Linked DNA regions of Homo sapiens: region 1 is linked to region 2. Evidence: promoter capture Hi-C in human tissues and cell types (Jung and others, 2019). All regions are on one chromosome and are shown on one strand. The core of a region is centred on a gene start or on the middle of the fragment in contact, and the rest is flanking DNA. Distances in the headings are between cores, read along the strand shown.

Evidence for each region. The method cuts DNA at HindIII sites, captures the fragments that hold promoters and counts their contacts. A contact is called where the count stands out against the background at its distance.
Region 1: a fragment that was not itself captured here is called in contact with the fragment with the promoter of REP15 in region 2 in 1 of the 25 tissues and cell types used here (spleen).

What each region holds. Positions count from the first base shown.
Region 1 is chr12:27,514,178-27,520,133 of GRCh38, forward strand. No RefSeq gene overlaps it. Among named protein-coding and RNA genes, the nearest start is that of PPFIBP1, 7.0 kb to the right of the region's middle. The HindIII fragment of the contact is 3,550 bases long and covers 1-3,025 here.
Region 2 is chr12:27,693,910-27,699,774 of GRCh38, forward strand. It overlaps REP15 (RAB15 effector protein), which reads left to right and starts at 2,538. Exons shown (of 1, transcript NM_001029874.3): 1 at 2,538-3,687. The coding sequence starts at 2,654. The coding sequence ends at 3,364. PPFIBP1 (PPFIB scaffold protein 1) reads left to right here. Exons shown (of 30, transcript NM_003622.4): 30 at 1-1,655. The region is part of intron 3 of MRPS35-DT (MRPS35 divergent transcript); the gene reads right to left. The HindIII fragment of the contact is 6,420 bases long and covers 1-4,868 here.

The sequences.
Region 1 (5,956 bases), core at 1-2,500, 180 kb before region 2:
GATTTCATAGCATAGTGAACAGAAGAAATCTTAGCAGTTCTTCTTTGCAATTCAACCTCTCCCAAAGGGGGCTGAATCTAGGGTCCAAATCTTTTCCTTCTTAACATGATGATGTGTAGCCACCCCAGAACAATTGGGTTCAACTTTTATGTAACAAAGCTGTGAGCTGTTTTTCTGTCTCAACAGATGTCAGGTCATGTAACCAGAGCATGCCCAGATGAACTAAATGTGCAACAACAGAGTGAACTTAAATGCTCAGAAGGAGGATTGGAGACTGAATTAAGAAGTAGACACCTCACGGCCGGATGCAGGATCCAATCAAATCGAGTTCTGGTGTCCCGATGGCAGGAAGCAGTCAGATCATGCCTCCCGACATTACCTCATTGCAAGATCCAATCAGATCACACCTCATTACCCTATGGTTATAAAACCTGGCTCAGCCCCCAGCTAAGAGAGTCAATGCTTTGGGAACTAGTCCTGTTCTCCTTATGTGTTACATTAATTTTTAAAATCCCCTTGTTAAATCCTCCTTGGTTGTGGTCATTGGGTTAACACCTGCCCAGTGACCAAATCTACCTGTTGTGTGGGTAACAGATGGAATCACTAAGTCACGATATCCATTGATTGCCCTTTTGATAGGAAAGCTCAGAACTTTACAAACCAGTCCTATAAGAAGCAGCATCTTTCCTTATACTACTGGTTACTCTCATAAATGTAACTCAATAAAAGTGAAATAGGGTTGATTGAGGGAAGTTTTTTGTTTGTTTGTTTTGAGACGGAGTCTCACTCTGTTGCCCAGGCTGGAGTGCAATGGCATGATCTCAGTTCACTGCAACCTCCGCCTCCTGGGTTCAAGCGATTCTCCTGCCTCAGCCTCTTGAGTACAGGCGTGCGCCATCGCGCCTGGCTAATTTTTGTATTTTTAGTAGAGACGGGGTTTCACCATGTTGGTCAGGCTGGTCAGGCCGGCCTCAAACTACTGACCTCGTGATCCGCACGCCTTGGCCTCCCAAAGTGTTGGGATTACAGGCGTGAGCCACCGTGCCCGGCCTGTTTTTTTGTTTTTGTTTTGATTTTAGTAACATGAGATATGCTATGTCCTGACTCTGTTCTCATTATAGTTAAAATAAATAAATCTAAACTCCTTCAAGACCCTAAGTGATCTGGCTGCTGATATGAGAGTCTGTAGAAAGATAAAACAATATTCAAGCTTCTTTTCTTTTGGCCCTTTGTTCATTGCCCTTGTAATCATAGCTTCTTCATGCTAGTTGCTTAGGGAAGGAATGAAGTAGAACAGGGCCATGTAATTAATATAATGATATTTAATTAATATGCAATGATAATTATATGTTGTAAACTAATACATTCTAAAATTCCCACAATGTGTGACAAAAATATACCACCAAGACAGACTGAGGTTGACCTAAAGTAATGTCACAATGTAATATGATTTAGAGGCAAACTTAATCTTGATCACCAGATTATACATTAAGAACTTTCACCTCGCTTCAGAATAAAACACTTCACTTTGTCTGCTCTATTTTTTTCAGGGAAGGTAAAATGCTCTCACATTTATTATCTCGTTTAAAGTCACGGCATTCCTTAAGCGCTTTCAAGTCGTAAGGCATTAAAAGTATTCAGATTACCTCAGGTGATAGAAATTTAGTGTGAGACTACCTGAGGAAGGGAGGAAATGCAGGAAAACCACTGAACCGTCAAGCCTCATGAGAACTGGAGCACAGTCCGGGATTCAAGAGTGAATCTACTAGTCTATTATTCTTACGGCTGAGCTTCTCTCTCAGCACAGACTGTACTGCCAAACTCGGTTGTATTATGCTACTTCCTAGTTATGTGACCATGGACAAGTTACTTAAGCTCTCTGTGGCTTGGTTTTCTCATCTGCAAAGTGGAAACAGGGTTGAAGGTAATATATTTAAAGGCATTTAAAATACAGTTCGAGTCTCCCTTATCTGAACTGCTTGGGACCAGAAGTGTTTAGGATTTCAATTTTTTTTTTTTTTTTCAGATTTTGGAATATTTGGATTTTACTTACAGGTTCTTATAAGTAACTTGCCAGCATCCCTAATCTAAAAATCTGAAATCCGAATTGCTCCAATGGACATTTCCTTTGAGCGTCGTGTTGGCACTCAAAATTTCAGATTTTGGAGCATTTTGAATTTCAGATTTTCAGATTAGAAATGCTCAACCTGTAGTACCTGATACACAAAAATCGGCATGTGTTCACTATCATCATTACCATTTTAATTATTGCTGTCCTATTTTTGATTCCTTCAGTAGCTAGCGTCCACCACCCCTGTGGCATCCACCACCTCATGGCTCCTGACTACTGCTTTTTCTAGGTGTGACTCTCAGCACATGCCACCCTTTTCTGCTTTATGTTTTACTTCAGCTCCTGTCTACTTTCTTCTGATTTCATCTTCTAGACCTCATGCTTCTACTTACTATTCTGTGCATGACCTGTATTCATTCTGTTTATGACCTTTATTCCATGTGCCTCCTTGCTTCTGCTCTACTCTATGGTCTGGTTTTCTAGACATATTCAATGTGTCATATTAAATGTCTTGAGGGAAGATATACATGGCCCCGTTAGTGGGTGTTCAGTACAGATCTCTGCTGAACAGTTCCTGTGCCTGTTTGCCCCAGGCCATTGACAAGTTTATACCTGGCTGTCTTCATTCAGGTGGGAATCCATGCTTCAATCAGTGCTATTGAAGTGTCGTAGGAAGGTTGCCGAGGAATCCTGGGTATACAGAGCCATTTCGGACTCTCAGAAGGAAGTTGTGGAGTTAGCAGCATCAGAGTTTCATGGAACACCCTTTTTTAGTTTGTTTGCATTAATGACATCCCAATCACAGATGAAGAAACTGAAGCTCAAAACTGTCAAATGATGCTGGGTCTTATAACTCAGAGCACACACTTAACTAATTTTACCAAAGAAGAGGTGATATTTCTTACACTTTCTTTTATTCAGAAATGGGTGATGACCTTTTTTCAGAAATGAATGTAAAAGGCACTAATATGGCTATTACATTATGTATAATTCAGAATTCAAGCCGTTTAGGATCGAATGGAAATTAAAGTGAAATAAGATTAAGAGGTTTAAAGCCTTTAAAAGACGGACATACTGGCTGGGCACGGTGGCTCATGCCTGTAATCCCAGCACTTTGGGAGGCCCAGGTGGGCAAATCATGAGGTCTGGAGTTCGAGACCAGCCTGACCAACATGGTGACACCCATCTCTACTAAAAATACAAAAAATTAGCTGGGTGTGGTGGTGGGTGCCTGTAACCCCAGCTACTCAGAAGGCTGAGGCAGGAGAATTGCTTGAATCTGGGAGGCGGAGGTTGCAGTGAGCCGAGATCACGTCACTGCACTCTAGCCCAGGTGACAGTGCGAGACACTGTCTCAAAGAAAAAAAAAAAAAGACAGACATACTAAAGTGATAGTTGGGATCCTTTCCCATTGCTTCCTTAATACCCTGGCTAGTTTAACAAACCACAGTACTGATTATCTGGCAATTCAGATGTTGCACAGTCAGCATCCTTCAGTGGAAAGGAATTTCTGAAGATAGACTCTGGAAGAGCAAGGGAAAGTAGCAGAGAATCTAATTTTTATGGGACTTGGGAGATAGATGCTATATCCTGAAGATTTATCAGCAACTTGTTTCAACATGCCAGGAAAATTTCTTCAATGAAAGCATTTGTTTAAGCCAATTTTTCCATCATCATCTTACATCTGTTTTAGCTAAAATTTATTTCTCTTAGTCTTCTTTGACAGAAGTGTCTGGGTTAAAGTTAACCTGCCATTTTAAAATGTAAGTTCTAGTTAAGTAAAAGAATTCTAGTTAAATATTAGGAAAGACTAAACAGACAATAAATTAATGATTGTTTAGGTGACAGGTGAGTGAAGTAGAAATTAATGGATCAGTCTGAAGCCTCGGAATTGTATATATGGCACTGGTCCAGGGAATGTCAAGTTGGGTAAATTTTGATCAGTAGTGAGCCACGACGTATTATTTTAAAACTGAGCCCTATTTAATATTGTGGCAGGTGGAAATCAAGGGGGGACTTACTGGTTTTGAGTAATGCTCTGTTGTTACTGGGCGTGTTCCTAAGACGTTGAAGAGGCCAATGCACAGTGCATGTTGATAGGAAGGATGGCGGGGCTCTCCCACCCAAAGGCTTGACAGCTGTAGAAAGGCTTGGGCTGCTTGGGGCAAACATTATGCAGATCACCTACATGCAATGAAAAACAGGAATTGCTCCTGTGTATTGAAAAGGCTGGCTCCCTATCTTGTTGACCTGTCTCAGAATACAGAAACCAGACATACTTTTTAGGAGATTCAATTAAGGAAGTTTGTAATGAGGTTAATTGTTGAAGAGAATGTAATTTGTTTAGTTTAGTCATTCGTTGAACATTAATCAAAGACCATGAAAACCAATTATCCTTATTTTTAATTAAAATTTTTCAACTTATAAATAGACTAATAAAATGAGTAAGTTGAATGTAACTAGATTTTTAGATGTATCTGGTGGGTAACCAGAGAATAACCAGCACAATTGGGTTGTAAGGAAAAAGTGATTAAAATAAGACTCCCCACTTGGAGCAAGATATTGTGCCTATTTCTAACCTGTCTCTATGGGCAAGAAGGGAATGGGGAGGAGGGTTGGATTCAGAAATGATGTCAATGGTGATAGCTAGGTAGTGGCTTAGTATTCAATGAAAGGATATTAAAATAACGTCTGGATTATCACCAATGCCACGCTTAGGATCAGACAGAATAAGCAGTAATTTCCTTTAGAAGGAATTCTAAAGCTAAGCTTGTTTGATTTGGATTTGGGTTCATGATTTATACCATGTGTTTAACCCACTCTGTGTTTGGCAGTGTGACTGGGATAACAACAACTGGAGGCACCCAGATCCTTTGTGATCAGTCTGGTCAAGTTATTCCTGAACTTCTGAAGACCTAGACCATAGCAGGTTATGAGTTTCAAGCAAAAGACAGCATTCATTCACTTATTCATTCAGTGAATATTTAATCAATGTCTATGGGACAAAACATGGTTCTAGATCCTACAAAGGATGTAAAGATGAAATAAATTAGCATTCTGTTCTTGAGGACTGTAAGAAACTTGGAGCCAGAAAGGAACATAAGGCACCTATAAAAATTATAGTACAATTGTTTTATGTTGTAGGAAAAAGGAAAATATGTTTGCTTATCACCTATGATGTGTCAGGCAAGGTGCTCTGTCATCTTGCATATGACATCTTGTCAGATCCTTGCAACAACACTGTGAGGTAGATTTTTGTAGAAACAGGCAAAAATCACAGTGAGGATGTATTATTAGGAAATATGGGTGCAAAGTCATGCAGTGCATGCAGTGTGGGCATATGAAGAAGAGTCGAAAATAAGTTCAGAAAGGTAAGTTGGGGGCAAGGATGTGAAGGCTTTTGGACACCAGTCAAGAAAGTTTGATGAGTTTTGTTCCTTGGTAAAGGGAGACTCATTTAAGTGTTTAGAGTCAGGAGTGATCAGGGTTGTGCTTTAGAGAGCTGCAGCTGGAAGCCTGTAAAGACCAGACAGGCAAATGCTGTGGATTTGATGAGTAGGGTGAGCCTCTTCTGGTACCTGCATCCAAAGAAAGGGAGGTGTCCTCAAGCCTGCTCAGATTTGGGGATGGTGTAACTAAAGAGTCAGCTTGTTCTGTTACTGCAAAGGGCAGAAGTGAGAGTGTAAATTGTGGACAATCAATGCTTCAGACACAGAAAGACAAAATAGGTTTGGAATCAAATAGACCTTGGTTTCAATCCCAGTTCTGGGGGAATCTGGAGCAATTTACTTGTATAACCCTGGAGAGTGATTCCTCATGTCAAAATGATGCTAATAACACTTACCTTACAGGATGTTTGTGAGGATTAAATGAGACACAAGACAG
Region 2 (5,865 bases), core at 1,288-3,787:
TTGTGATCTGCCCGCCTCAGCCTCCCAAAGTACTGGGATTATAGGCATGAGCCACCACGCCCAGCCTGTTATTTTTTTATTATTATTGTTTTTTTTTAGTGACAGAGTCTCATTCTGTTGCCCATGCTGGAGTGCAGTGGCGTGATCATAGCTCACTGCAGCCTTGAATTCCTAGGCTCCAGTGATCCTCTCACCTCAGCTTCCCTAATAGCTAGGATTACAGGTGTGTGGCCTCCCACCCCACCCCACCCTTCACACCTGGCTGATTTTTCAAAAAGTTTTTTTGTAGAAACAGGGTCTCACCATGTTGTCCAGCCTGGTCTCAAACTCCTGTCCTCAAGTGATCCTCCCACCTCAGCCTTTCAAAGTGCTGGAATTACAGGTGTGAGCCACTCTGCCTGGCCTACCACTAACTTGAATACATTCAGAATCACCTCCTCTCCCCAAAATTTGTAGAAATAGTTTTTGAGGAAGCCAAAAGCAAAGCAGAAACCTTTACAGTATTGTTTCTTTTCTCTTTGTTAACTGTGTCATTACAGCAAAATACTAGCAGTCTGCCTAAACATGTTCATTGTACATTTCTCAGGCTATCAATGAATGGAGGTTTTTAAAAAGTTGAATATTTGTCTGAACATTTTATTTCAAAGTTCAAAAAAACAGAGGCTGCAAAATTCATTTTATAATGGCTATTTTGTGACGATAAGATGTAGTTCATGTTTTTCTGTAGCACTGGGCCCAAATATTCTTTGTAAAGAAAATCGCTGCAGCAAAAACTGTTACTGTGTTTATTATATTTGTAGAAGTATTAGAAAAATATTCTATTTTTTATTCAGTGCTGCGTAATTACCCATGGTAGCCAACCCTACAAAAGACAGGTTTTCACAAATTGAGGTGGAGGTGGGCGGTTCAGTATCTGCCACTGGACTTGATTATAAACTGTATTTGAATATCAGTGGTATTATCTTTTAAGTTGTCAGCAAGTTACCAAGGTATTCATTAAAGAACTTGTAATATCAAATTACTATTTATTCATAACAATTGATTTGATGCTAATAATAATTTTCTTTAAACTCTACCATTCATTATGTGGTAACTGTATTGAACTTACTTTATTTGGATTTTATTTTAATGTGACTAGATGTCACCACTTCAAAAAATCAATTTGTTCTTAGAACCTGGTTGAAAATACCAGGAAACTGTTACAGACGCCATTTTTTTTTTTTTTGAGACGGAGTCTTGCTCTGTTGCCCAGGCTGGAGTGCAGTGGCACAATCTCAGCTCACTGCAAGCTCCGCCTCCTGGGTTCACGCCATTCTCCCACCTCAGCTTCCCAAGCAGCTGGGACTACAGGTACCTGCCACCACGCCTGGCTAATTTTGTTTTTGTATTTTTAGTAGAGACGGGGTTTCACCGTGTTAGCCAGGAAGGTCTCAATCTCCTGACCTCGTGAATCGCCCCCCTCGGTCTCCCAAAGTGCTGGGATTACAGGCGTGAGCCACCATGCCCGGCCCAAATATTTTTTATTCAGGATGGTATAACCTAACTGATAATAGGTAATAAGGTTAAATTTTTTTATGACGTATTTTATTTACAAATATCATACACTGCTGGTGTTACCATATGAAAGGAAATAAAGTCAATTGATAATTGCCTCATTTTTATTGCCCTTATTTCATTTTCCGTTGTTCATAGTAACAGGCTTTGTTTCTGACATAGAAAATAACACAATCTCTTTATAAACTGCCATAAATTTGTTCGAATGGAGTTTATAATGTGTATCAACAGATAGGAATTTGAGGCCTTTGTTTGAGAAGCTTTTGTAGGAAAAGAAGCAACTGAGCTGGGGAATGAAGAATCATGGCAGAAGGTAAAAGAAACAAAAACAAACAAAAAAAGAAAATAGGAAAAGCAAATGGAAATGACTCACCTAGAGATTGGAAGAAGTTAGTTGTAGAAAGAGGTGTATGGATATTTAAAAAACTAACATAGGGCTGGGTGCAGTGGCTCATGCCTATAATCCCAGCACTTTGGGAGGCCGAGGCGGGAGGATTGCTTGAGCCTAGGAGATTGAGACCAGCCAGGACAACATGGTGAAACCCCACCTCTACAAAAAATACACAAAAATTAGCCAGGTGTGGTGGTATACACTTGTAGCCCCAGCTACTCAAGAGGCTGAGGTGAGATCACCTGAGCCCAGGGAGGTTGAAGCTGCAGTGAGCCATGATTGCGCCACTGCACTCCAGCCTGGGTAGCAGAGTGAGACCCTGTCTCAAAAAACAAAAACAAAAAGAACTAACGTGCTATTTTTACTTCAACTAAAACTTGGAAAGAGGAAACATGTTGGAAGAGATTACCAAAGATTAAAAGTAGAGTGAATATAACCTAGATAGAACAGATGTTTTGTGTGAAATTTAGTATCTTTAACTTAATAAACCAGCAGGAACTGTATGAACACAACACACCCAACTGACAAACAGAGAGAACTAACATGTTTATTTAGCTGTATGTATATATGCTTAACTACACCCGAGGAAGCTGTAGAGTTAGAAAAACATGAACCATTAACAGATGTGGCCTCCCTGCAGAACTTTTACTTTGAAAAAGAAGTACGTCTGAACCAGATTCACATGTTTGATATTTGGATGCAGAGAAAATGGGGCAGAAAGCATCGCAACAGTTGGCTCTGAAGGACAGCAAAGAGGTGCCCGTCGTCTGTGAGGTGGTCAGTGAAGCTATAGTCCATGCAGCTCAGAAACTGAAGGAGTACCTTGGATTTGAATATCCTCCAAGTAAACTCTGCCCAGCTGCAAATACTCTGAATGAGATCTTCTTAATCCATTTCATCACTTTCTGCCAAGAAAAGGGAGTTGATGAGTGGCTGACCACCACCAAGATGACCAAGCACCAAGCCTTCCTGTTTGGTGCAGACTGGATTTGGACCTTTTGGGGATCCAACAAGCAAATAAAGCTTCAGCTCGCAGTACAGACTCTGCAGATGTCTTCACCTCCTCCTGTGGAATCTAAGCCTTGTGACCTTTCCAATCCAGAATCAAGGGTAGAGGAGTCTTCCTGGAAGAAAAGTAGATTTGATAAGCTGGAAGAATTCTGTAACTTAATAGGAGAGGATTGCCTGGGTCTGTTTATCATCTTTGGTATGCCAGGAAAGCCTAAAGACATCAGGGGAGTTGTCCTGGACAGTGTCAAAAGTCAGATGGTGAGGAGCCATCTGCCAGGAGGGAAGGCTGTGGCTCAGTTTGTCCTGGAAACTGAAGATTGTGTGTTCATCAAAGAGCTGCTCAGAAATTGTCTGAGTAAGAAAGACGGGCTGAGAGAGGTGGGCAAGGTTTATATCAGCATTCTCTGACTTGGATATGTATTATGTGAGTGGCCTGTAAGAGGAAAAGAAAAAAAGATTCTAATAAGCAAGCTCACCTATTTGCATCATTCCAGCATGGGATTTTTTTTCATTTGTTTTCCCATTGATTGAAAATGATTACTGGGATCAAAGTACATTCATGTCGCAATTACAGAGAGAGAGAGAAAAAAAGAAAACCCTGGCTCTGCCTATGATTTAAAAACAGTTCAGGAAAAGTTATAATTTAGTTTAATATTTCATTCACTTATTCAATAATAAAAATGGAAGAGAGATAATAAAGTCACATTTAAAGTTTGATTTGCAAAAAAAAAGTGTCTGTTTGAAATAATAAGTCTAGCACTCAAAAGTATAAAATGTGTTTTTGCATCTGTTGGTGGGAGATGGGTAGGATAAAGTAGTGGGTAAGGCTACAGAGCAGGTTTAATTACATTTGTAATGCCAGTTTCAAGCCAGGCACAGTGGCTTATGCCTATGGTCTCAGCTACTCAGTAGGCTGAGGTGGGAGGATCGCTTGAGCCCAGGAGTTTAAGGCTACAGTGAGCTGTGATTGCACCACTGTGCTCTAGCCTGGGCAACAGAGTGAATCCTCATCTTTAAAAAAAAAAAAATAGTTTGGGTTCAGGACTCCTGCACAAAACTCACAGCGTTCTTTTCCTCTAACACTTACCTTATTCTGTCTTCTCCCTAGCTGCTGTCTCTGCACTGAGAGGACTTTGATGGGATTTACTTTGAGATTCACTTTAGTGTTAGCTCTGCCTATGATTTAAAAACAGTGACCTATAAAACTATTCCTTTTAATAATACTTGTTTAGCCTTTGCAGTAAGGAAGGTGTATTCACATATAATAACCATTTTTACTTAAAAGCCAGTGTGGAATTATAACAGTACAAAAAGGAATCACCATTATTTATTGCACTTGTAAGTCAAGTCAGATGCTTTACATATATTAGCGTGATTTGCATGTGTCTTCCATGACTCTAAGAGGTTTCTATTTGCCAAATCAAAGAGGCTAGATAACTCATAAATCTATTAAGTGGCTTGTAACAAAAAAGTAAAGTCTGCCCAGTTACAAAGCCCATATTCTACAGTCGTGTAAAGAAAATTCCCTGTAAGCCTATAAATTAGGTTAAGTAAAAATCAATTAAAAAAAAAAGAAGAAGAAAAGAAAATTCTTTGGCCAGGAAGAGTAGCTGTGATCCCAACACTTTGGGAGTCTGAGGCAGGAGGATTGCTTGAGCCCAGGAATTCAAGACCAGCCTGGACAACATGGTGAAACCCCATCTCTACAAAAAATACAAAAAGTCATGGTGATGTGTGCCTGTAGTCCCAGCTACTTGGGAGGCTGAGGTAGGGGGACTGCTTGGGTCCGGGAGGTCAAGGTTGCAGTGAGTCGTGATCGTGCCACTGCCCTCCAGCCTAGGCAACAGAGCAAGACCCCATCTCAATAAATACATAAAAAGAAAATTCTCTGATTTTAAACTACTGGAATTGCTGAGACAACAAAGGTGTTCACCTGCAAAAATGCTAGCTGGTTACTGTTGCTCATTTTTCCTCCATTTCCTGGCCTTAATCTGTGGCTACTTTTCCTGTTGTTGAACCACCTGTTCACTGATACGCAGCCATTAGAAACATGGGCTGAATCCTTTCAACTGCATCCAACCTCTTAAAATCGTTTCTGTTTCTGACAGTCTTCTTATGGCCTTGGCCTTTTCTGTATTTTGGAATTTAGGGCATGTTCCTGTGAGGCTGAATTAAGACATATGAGCGCAATGTGGCGTCATGCAGGTATTCCATAGTAAGAAATACATTTGTTGCTGTGATCTGTATAACTGAAGCATGTTGCAGTGCACTCTGATAGTTTGTCCTACATCGGTTTGTAAAATGCTGACTGCAAGCCACCAAATTGATATCATGACCAGCAATAGGCCACAATGCAGAGTCGTAAAAACTTTGTCATGGTAGAAGGAGTGAGAGCTTTCGAGTTTAGTTGAGGACAAACCTGCTTAAAATCCCAGCTCTTTTATTTACACGTATCCAACCAAACCTCTGTGCTGGTTATTCTCATTTCAACCTCCACATCTACTCCCCACCTTGTCTGCCTTCTTCTGGGCTCTAACTGCATCACTCTGGCTTCCATCCAGTGGAGAGCACGAGATCAGAAAGGGGACAGGTCTGGAATGTATTAGCCCAACTTTCCCTGCCTCACTACGATGCTTGGTTCCAGACAGCTCCTGTCCAGCTGGCCCTTCTCTGAGACTCCAGCTCCCTCCCCTTCCCCTCTCAGGCCATTGTCCCTTCCGGGGTGCTTCATCATTCTTTGTTAGTTCCTTGCACCCTGCCCCCACCCTGTAGATGTACTTTTTCCTTAGGTAGACTTGAGGGTGCCATTTGATTTCTTCTGTAGCCCTAATGCCTCCTGATTTTCCTATCTAAAAACCGGAGATGACAATACCCACCTCGTAGAACTGCTATTCGTTATAGAATTAAGA